Regions from separate parts of the Homo sapiens genome. Here region 1 is linked to region 2. Evidence: promoter capture Hi-C in human tissues and cell types (Jung and others, 2019). All regions are on one chromosome and are shown on one strand. The core of a region is centred on a gene start or on the middle of the fragment in contact, and the rest is flanking DNA. Distances in the headings are between cores, read along the strand shown. Region 1 overlaps EXOSC7 (exosome component 7). Region 2 holds the start of ZNF502 (zinc finger protein 502).

Region 1 (4,768 bases), core at 2,269-4,768, 270 kb before region 2:
CCCAGGAAGCCCAGTCCTATTACTTCTTAATAGAAACTGACAAGTTGGCGCTACCAATCTGACACATCTGGAAGGACTTTAGACTCAAAGTGGTCCTCTGAGGTTATGTTAACCCCTCATTAACTTGCTTTGACTTGTCTAATACTCCAGATTCCTAAAGGAGAAGTGAGACTAAATTCCTTCCCCTACTAGAAGGTGACTGCCCCCCGCCCTTAGGAAAGGGGCCACATTTGGTCCAGCTTTGCAGGCTCGGGCCCATCACACAGCAGGCAAAAGTAGGTGTTGATCCTTGTTTGACTTTCCAACCCTGTTGAGTAGCCAGGCATTCCTCTGAAAGGATATGGCTCCATAACTCTGCATCCTGCAGTGTCTGGGCATAAGGCTTTCTGTGCCATGGGTCTGTAAACAGAAAGGGCAGAGAGCTAAAAATCAAGAGTCCTGAGGGCTGGCTCCAATTCTGTCATGGCCAGACTGAGCAACCGAATACTGACTGCTCAATCTCATAGTTGAAAACCAGGCTGAGGCCCTGATCTCCCTCTTCCATGCTATACCCCTAAACAATGCTTATGATGAAAGCAAGATCCACAGAAAAGAAATGGAAGCCATCAGCTGGGCTACAACTCCCTTCAACAGCCAAGAACATACAATAAAATGGCTTTCACAGGGTTCCAAGAGCCCTGTGGTAGGGTTCGTCAATTGCCATGGCCAGGTCTGAACCTATGAGGGCCAGTTTAATGTCCAGGTCATAGCCATAGCACTCAGTAGGCTGAACCTGGGAAAGCTTTATTGTGCCTAAAGCCCTGTAAAGGCCACATAACAGTCACCATCCATCCCCAACAGCCAGGACCAGGGGTAGGTGCCTGAACCAAAGGCATATAATCCAAAGGGTGACCAACTCTTTTTGGCGTGAAATACTACCAGACCAAACTGATTCTCTCATTGCAATCTGGTCTCTGATCTGAGAAACACTTGAGAGAAGAAAGGAGTTAAAGAGGAGCTGACAGGTCATGATATGGAGGAGCCCAGAGAGGCCACACGAAAGTAAAGGTATTGGGCAGAGGCAGATTCTACAAAGAAGGGAAGCTGGACAGCAAGTGGCTGCAGAGAAGGGATAAATCTTGGCAGAGAAAAGCAGAGATGTCACTAGAGATAAAGACAGACAGCCACACAGGCCATGAGATAATCCACGGAGCCCATGAGAGGCGGTACCTCAGAGCTGTCTGGGGACTTTCCAGCTCTTGCCACAGATCCCCCTTCTCTTTTTTCTTTTTCTTTCTTTTAAGAGACAGAGTATCTCTCTGTCACCCAGGCTGGAGTGAAATCTCCAACTCCTGGGCTCAAGCGATCCTCTGGCCTCAGCCTCCCAAGCAGCTAGGCCTACAGGCACACACCACCACACACCTAATTTTTTTTAGAGATAGGGTGTTGCTATGTTGCCCAGACTGGATGCCAACTCCTGGCCTCTGGTGATCCTCCCACCTCAGCCTCCCAAAGGGCTGGGATTACAGGTGTGAGCCACTGCACCTGGCCTATCCCTTTTCTTGAGATAATTGAAAAATCCCGATTCCTTCAAATCAAAAGAGGTTTAATTCTCAGGAGCCACAGGCTGAATCTTTAATGAGGTCACTATGAAGGCTGGGGATCTAGTGTGGATGGTTTAAGACAAAGTCACACTTCTGATGGAAAAACAAACTTGAAAGGGAGCCAGCATTTTTTCTGTGTTAACCACAGCCCAAGTGCTTGACATCTCTTATCTCATCATTCCTCATAACCCCATTCTACTTCCAGGTGCATAAGTCCCCATTTTACACAAGGGAAGCAGGTTCAGTTATGCAAGTAAAACCACTTATTGTAAATGGTGAAGGTGCCTGCTCAGTCTGACTCCAAAGCCTCATTCAAAAAGAGGCAGGAAACCATATGACTTCAGCAGGAGAGAGCAGAGATTTCTTTATCTCTGGTCAGTGGCTTACCCATGGGCCAATGTCTGGTGGCTGCCCCCAAATTTCCCAACACTTTATGATAATGTCCATTCTCAGGCCCCAGCCCCAGAGAGTCTGATTCAGAATGTTGGGGTAAAGCCTCAGAATCTGTATTTTGTAGGTGAGTAAAATGCACTTCAAGGCTTCAGAATCCCTGGGCTAAGAGGGAGGTTAGCAATGGCTTCTCATGGATGAGGAAAACACACATCTAGCCCAGTAAGCCAGAAAAGAGGATAAATCCTAGATTCTAAAAATTCTGAAGTCTGCTCCAAGTTCTGCATGGTATGGGCAGAGTAAATCGTTTATGATACTAGTAAGACAAAAGCTATACAAAGAAATGCAATATAGGGTTCTAAAGGAACTTATACTCAATGTGGGAAAAATGCAACCAAAACAATACAGCAGTATATGCCATATACTATTTAAGCTCTAGAAAAACTGGGGAGTGGGAGGTGTCAATTAGAACTTTCTCTTTCCCTTCCAGTTTCCCCACAAGCTTTTAGAGAAAGGGGGAAAGAAAAGGAGGTAGAGGAAGCAAAGATTCTCTCCTGCCTTGATCTCTGGATCCCTACTGAGGAAATGGAAGAAATGACTTTCACTGCAGCAGGAAGGTGGCCTCAGAGTCAAGTATGGGCTTTGCAATCAGACAGGTCTGGATTTAAATCCCAGTGCCACCACTCAATTACTGTGTCACCTTGACAAGCGACTCAACCTGCCCGAGCTCAGTTCCTCATCTATAGAGATAACATTTACCTTCAGAACTGTTGTAAATATTCAATGAAATAAAAATTATAATATGTACCTAATAAGAATGGGATATAGCCTTCAAAGACTGAAAGAGAACCTAACAGAAACCAATCAAATTATTTATCAAAATACCGATTTAATCCACCTTTTTGATTCTCTGTTCTCCCCTGGGAGAGGGGATCTGTTCACCAGGTTGACTCAAATTGTATCACCTAGACTCCCTTTGCTGGCTTCTGGTTGGGTTTGTCCAGTGGAAGATACCAGATCAGAGGGTGCCCCTCACCCCCAATCTAGTGGCCACATTTCTGATAGTGCCTGCATCTATCGAAGACTATGACTTATGTTGGGCAGCCCTTCCTCCACAGTTCCAGCTATCACTGAAATGTGGTAATACTGTTTCCTCCCCTGGCCCCTTTGGAATAGGGGCAGTAGCCACTCCCAGTAGTTGTCTTGGGGCTCCTCAACATCTCTTATTGGTTCCCTGAAACCCCCCCCATACTGCTCTAGAGTCCCATCATAAAAGTCTCCTGAACTACCTGAAGAGGGTTCCATTTTCTGCCAATAACTAAAATGATCCACCCTCCCTTCTCACAAACTGACTTCTCCCAAGTGTGACACATCCTCTAGTGGCCATGTTTGAGCCTAATTATTCTGTCCATCCTTTCCCTCAACCCCCTAAAAGAACTAGAGTTTCTTTCTCTTGGAAACATGAGTTCAGAACTGAACGAGAAGGAATGGTCTCTTTTACAGAGGAACTGGGAAGGAACCACATTTTTTCTACCACTGGCCCAAGAAATAGAAAACCAATCTGTAGGGAGACAAAAACAAAGCAAAGAGGGGGAAAAAAAAAACCAGCAGAGATTAGGATTCCTGGAGAAACACTTGCAGCCTTGTAATCCATACTGTTTTGCTTGAGCCGATGTGTTGGTTACCATTACTAGCAACTGAATCCTCAACACATCGTGAGGTTAATTTCAACTGCTTCTAACTATCACCAAAACAAGATGAAATATTCCCTGAAATAGTAAAAGAACCAAAGGCTGAAGGGAAAGTGACATCAGAAGCTGAAATGGACGTTACTGGACCAAAGGTGAAAAGTAAAACACAAAATGACTAGGACTATACAAGCAACAGGAGTTCAGGCAGGCACTGCTTAAGGTGCACTGCCGGCACTCTATAACCAACGCAACAAAAGTTTAGGAGATTTCAGAACTGAATCAGTTGAGATTCCATGGTAGGCTCATTCACCTGCATCCTGACCTTTATTTGGATGGTGTAAATTGTGTTTTGCTCCTCTATACATATGGCATATTTTGGGCCAACATTAATAAGCCCTTATGAAGACGTTGATTTGAAGCCCATTACTCTGCATGGCTCTGTGATACACAGAGCTGAGCATTTACCAACAACTGTGCCCAAATATGTCCATGGTACTGGTGAGAGGGAGGTTTAATTTAAAAAATAAAAACACCATCCAACTCATTCCCCCTTTAAAGCTTACATCACCCATTCAATGCTACTAAGAACCTACCAAGTGCTAGACACTGGCTATGCCTTAAGGGTCCCCCATACAGACAAGTCAACAGGCTATTGCCTTCCAAGATCCATGATGAGCGAATGACTGAACCTCTAAGACCTCTAGGATCGTGCTTCTGGCCACCTCTGCAAGCTGATCTTCCACCATTTCCCCCAGCCCACCCCTTGGGCTCCACATGTCCTCCACCTGAGGATTTACAGACTCACCACCCCTTCCTTCTGGAACACTGGTGCCTACTTAATTCTCAGTCATGCTGAGAACTCAGTTCAAATGCTATTTCCTTAGGGAAGCCTCCTCTGACCTCCCAGTCTAGATCGTGTCCGTTTTTTCCTTCATAGCATTCAGTACAATTTTATATATAAACACTCAAGTACATTTATAGTTTCTGCATCTTCCTTCTAGCATGAGAGCTATATAAGGACAGGTTCCTTCCTAGCCCCTGAGTCTAGCTCAGTTCTGTGTTGAATGAATGAATACTGAGTCCTGAAGATACAGAGGAGGAATC
Region 2 (5,260 bases), core at 2,486-4,985:
AACATGGTGAAACCACGTCTCTACTAAAAAATACAAAAAATTAGCCGGGCGCAGTGGCAGGCACCTGTAATCTCAGCTACTCAGGAGGCTGAGGCAGGAGAATTGCTTGAACCCAGGGGGCAGAGGCTACAGTGAGCCGAGATCACGCCACTGCACTCCAGCTTGGGCGACAAGAGCGAAACTCCGTCTCAAAAAAAAAAAAAAAAGACTATATTCTTTGACCTAGTAATTCTACAAATAGAATTTTCTCAGAAAGAAGTAAATTTCCAGAGAGAAGAGAAACAGAATTCTTCTGTTACTTGTAAAAATATCCCCTGAAATGTACATGGAAATAAAAGTTTTTCTACTGGTGGACACTGAGGATTAGCAAATTATGGTACTTCTAGTTGGTGAAAATTATTTAGGCATTAAGATCATTAAAAATGAAAATATGTGTTTATTGGGAAAAATATTTATGCCATATGTTGAAAAAATCCAGTATAGTAAAATTTCAAGTAGTAATATAATGTAAAATATATGTTTGTTAAAATATACATGTGTCGTGCTTGTGGTTTCAGCTACTCAGGAGGCTGAGGTGGAAGGATCACTTGAACATGGGAGGTAGAGGTCGCAGTGAGCTGTGATAGCACCATTGCATTCCAACCTGGGTGACAGAGTGAGATCCCTCTCAAAAATTAAAAATTAAAAATACATCTGAATAAGATCAAGAAGGAAAAATAATCATCACTGTGGTAAAATAATGAATTGTGAATAATTTCCTCAAATGTCCTCTATTATCTATATTTTGCTCCACTTTAAAAAAAAAACAAATCTATAAGAATATATAACAAATTATTTATTGTGATCATATCTGAAGAATAAAATTATGGTAAACTTTTGCCTTAAGGCCTATCTTTTTGTAATGTTTGAAAATTTTCCCATAGGAATAACTAACTTCTGTAATCAAAGAAAAAGTGAAAAAGCATAATCAGAGATGGCCAGAGATTTATGTACAAAGATCACACTATTACTACAATTGTTAAATAAACAGGCAAATAAACATTGATAGACTAGCAAAGATAGCTTATGAAGGTATCAAAAATCATAATTTCAAAGAATATTCATGAGAAAATATAATATGTTAAAACAGGAAGATACAAAACACTAAAAAACAAGAAATATGCACACATATACTGGCATTAAGCACTCAATAAACAGAAACTATTGTTAATAAACAGATAAAACACACACATTTAAAAAAGACATAAAGAAAACCCACCAAAATATTAACACATTTATCTCTAGGTCAGTTAATGGGTCACTTTAGTTTGTCCTTTATACTCTTCTATATTTTTACTTCTCCTTCAATAAACATATATTACTTTTATAGGTAGAAAAAGTTACTTTTTAAAAACCCAGAAACAAAAACAAAAACAAAATGCCAGATCCAATGGCTATGGTATTGGCCTCCCATTCACAAGATGATAGTAGACTGGATTGGGACTCAGGAAAGTTTGCTCTGCCAATAGCCCATGTGAGTGGGCCTACATGACAGGCTATTTATCTGAAAAGGGTGACAAATTAGACAATATTTACGGGTCATTCCAGCTCTGATAATCTGTGAATCCTTGATGAGTTAATTCACATAAAGCATTCAAAAAGATATCTACTCGATGGCAGGCACTCAACAGGGGTTAGATGCTATTATGGTTGATACTAAAACCTACGGAGAAAGAAAGACATCTTGGTGATGACCACATCCTTCCAATCATGGATCATCTGAGCTGTCAGCAGTTTGTCAATGTCAAGGGTCAGCAAACATTTTCTGTAACAGGCCAGAAAGCAATTTTTTTTAGGTTTAATGGGTTAAATGGAAAATATAGTCTCTGTCTCAACTATTCAACTTTGCCTTTGTAGTCTGAAAACAGAAACAGACAATATGTACTGAATGAGCTTGCCTGTGTTTTAATAAAACAGTTTTACCAAAAAAAGTGGCAGACCAAATTTGGTCCATATTTGCTGACTCCTAGGTCTATAAGTTGCCCAGAAAGTAATGTACAGGTGCTTCTACAAATGCCTATTGTGGAATAATCTGGCTGTTAGTGATTTTAAGATGCTAAAAAGATCCCTCTGCAGATCTGGGGAAAGCTGAGTATTATGGTGAAAGGTAAAAAGGAAACAGGCTCTTAATAGCCCTATCCTGCTAACCTATTAGAGAGCTGGCTTCCTCCCTCTACCTTGTAAGCTTTTCCCCAGATGCCACCTCCTTACCCCTCAATAATTAGCTAAAAGAATCTAAGCAAGCTAGATGAAGTTTTTCAAGAATTTTTAACAATCCCTCCAACGAGACCACATTGAAATGTACTCCTCTCTGAAGCCCTTCTTGGTCTGCATTTTGGCACCAAACAGTGCACTCACCCAAGCTGTGGCAGTACACTTTATCTCTTATGCAGCCTTGGGTCACTTAGCAATGTGATCTGGGACAAGTTTTCTGTTCTCTCTGTACCTCAGTTCCCTCACTTAAAAACTACACATAGGCCTGGCGCGGTGTTTCACGCCTATAATCCCAGAACTTTGGGAGGCCAAGGCGGGTGGATCACTTGAGGTTGGGAGTTCGCGACCAGCCTGACCAACACTGTGAAACCCCGTTTCTACTAAAAATACAAAATTAGCCAGGTGTGGTGGCGCATGCCTGTAATCCCAGCTACTCGGGAGGCTGAGGCAGGAGAATCGCTTGAACCCGGGAGGCAGAGGTTGTGGTGAGCCCAGATCACCCCGTTGCACTCCAGCCTGGGCAACAAGAGTGAAATCCCGTCTCAAAAAAAAAAACAAACCAAAAACCAAAAAACAAAACTGTACACGCAATACGCTGTTGTGAAGATTAAATCAATTAGCACAAATGCTTCAAATAGTGCCTGGTATACAGTAAGTGCTAAATAAATGTAGTTTAAAATATTACCACCAAAATCTGCTTATGCCCTTATCGTCCTAAACAAGACTGGAAGCATCTTTACATGTGGCAGTCTCCGATGTCACTCTTTTGTAGCCTAGCCACTAAATTCGGGGTAATGTTTGGCATATAATGGATAGTAATCCTTCATTGGGAGGCATTAAGGTTTGCATACATGCTATCACATACAAGCTGTCAACTGAGCTTTGTGAAGAAGCAAGGAACAGACTTCTAGACAGTACTTTAGAGATTTCTGTACCCTCCAGAATTGTAACTCAGGTCTCAAGACTCCCAACGAGTGCACTTTACGCTATTTGCCGTCTCCTATAAAAACAGGCTCTAAACAAGTTTCGGAGCTACAGGATCAGCCGGGGGAAGAAACTGGTATCTGATCCCCAGGACCTCGTTTCCTGACATGGGTCCTAGGTCTGTCTTGATCATCTATCCATCACTCATTCACTCATTCATTCATTCACTCCGCCATTTTCCTAGGCATCTCCTCTGTGCCGGGCACTGTGCTGGGCCTTGGAGTCTGCAGTGCTGAGGCTGCAGGCTGGGCGGGCCGAGCCGCTAGGAGTGCCCTACGTCCGGGCAGCACGCGTAGGCAGCAACGTGGAGAGGACCGAGGCCGGGGCTGACTTCCCAGATAACCCTCCAGCCCGCCGCCCCAGCAATGGCTCGCCGGGGTCCTCTCTTTTCCCCTCCCTGGGTCCCAACTCGCTCACTGTGAGATCCACGGACTCTCCGCGGAGCGGCGCAGGCGCTCCCAGAGGTGGACTGGGGCCAGGACACCAGCCTTAACTTCTGAAACCGGAAGAATGGTGGCGCGGCCGGTAGTGCGTCAGCAGCGAGCTCGCGCATCCATTCTCTGATTCTCTAGGAAGCGGGAGGAACATCTCTATGGGACCCTAGAAGAAGGCATTCCCTCCAAACCCAGCCTGTAACTCCAGCTTTGTTTCCCGCCAAGCCCAGCCTGTAACTCCAGCCTTGCTTCCCGTCAAGCCCAGTCGCGTTCCTGATATCCCATTAACAACTATCTTGGCCTGAAACACAGTGGCTACCTCAACCCTCAGGAAAACTGTAGAGGGAGACGTTAGGGATGGAAAGGATGCTGGGTAGGAGCCGGAATGGGCCATCTCAACAAGAAACTAGTATATTCTACCTGCTTAAAATAGTCTCTATTAAGAACCTTGAGTGATCCCCTGTTATGTTAGAATAAAGGACAAACTCCCAATCTAGGCCCACACAAACTGACCTCAATATCAACATCTCTTATTTGGCTATCATATACATTCTGCTCTAAAGTTACTGAATTCCCATTGGCCCCCTGAAATCCCTTGCCTCTTCCTGACTCTAGATCTTTTTCCCAGGATTTTCCCTTTGGAATACTCTCCCTTCCTTCTACCTGCTCTCCCTAACCTCAGCTATCCAATTTATCCTGGTTCTTCAAATCCCAATGCCAATTCTCACTTGACCACCTAGACTGTTGCCCTTATGGGTCTTTACACTCACATATCACTATTAGTTATTCTAGCTCTAGCTAGCCTTCTATTCAGTGCCCCCCTAAATGCATACACTTGTATTTCTTTCGTAGGTATTGTTAGGAAGATACACACAAGTAGCATCCCACCCAAGGACAACTGTGAAAGACCCAATCAGTTCATTTTTATACAACTCTAATCAGCTATATGGAGCTATTATTTATCATTATATCTCAATGTTTAGCACAATGATTGGTAGAGAAGGCATTCAATAAATACTTGTTGAATTCGTTAATCAGAAACAGGTGAAATTTAGATTATTGGCATTTTTGATAAACTGAAAAATGAGGATACCATAGATTAAATCCAGAAAGCAAGCTCTCTGCACATCTGAAAGGATGTACCACGTAGCTGGCATATTCCCGTTTCTTTGGCTCACTCTATCCAATTGTTATCTCCCTTGGTAGAATGTAAGCTGTATGAAGGCAGGGGCCTTCTCTGTTTCATTCATACTATATCCCTAGCACCTAGAGCATGGCTGACATACTAGGCATTCAATCAGTATTTGATGAATGACTAGGTCACCATCAACTTCCAACAAGTTACAGGAAATAGTTACTCCACATAGATGTATACTGCTTGTTTGAGAGCTAAAACTGCTGGAAAATTATCTTTCTTCCCCCAGATTACCTAAAGTGTACATTCCAGAGATGAATGTTGCTTCCCTGTGAGAAATAGAAACTCCTTCTAAATTATATTTACCTGACCCCCACCAAAAGAGATTATATGAAGGTATTTTCCATTCTGGGCGGCGGGGTCGGGGACGGGTTGAGAGGAGAGGGAAGGGGAA

What was found. The method cuts DNA at HindIII sites, captures the fragments that hold promoters and counts their contacts. A contact is called where the count stands out against the background at its distance.
Region 1: a contact is called between a fragment that was not itself captured here and the fragment with the promoter of ZNF502 in region 2, in 1 of the 25 tissues and cell types used here (heart left ventricle).

What each region holds. Positions count from the first base shown.
Region 1 is chr3:44,978,398-44,983,165 of GRCh38, reverse strand. All of the region lies in intron 1 of EXOSC7 (exosome component 7), which reads right to left. Among named protein-coding and RNA genes, the nearest start is that of EXOSC7, 4.5 kb to the right of the region's middle. The HindIII fragment of the contact is 3,779 bases long and covers 1,629-4,768 here.
Region 2 is chr3:44,711,135-44,716,394 of GRCh38, reverse strand. ZNF502 (zinc finger protein 502) reads right to left here and starts at 3,735. Exons shown (of 3, transcript NM_001134442.3): 1 at 3,655-3,735. LOC105377056 (a long non-coding RNA gene) reads left to right here. Exons shown (of 3, transcript XR_940788.4): 3 at 558-878. The HindIII fragment of the contact is 6,909 bases long and covers 819-5,260 here.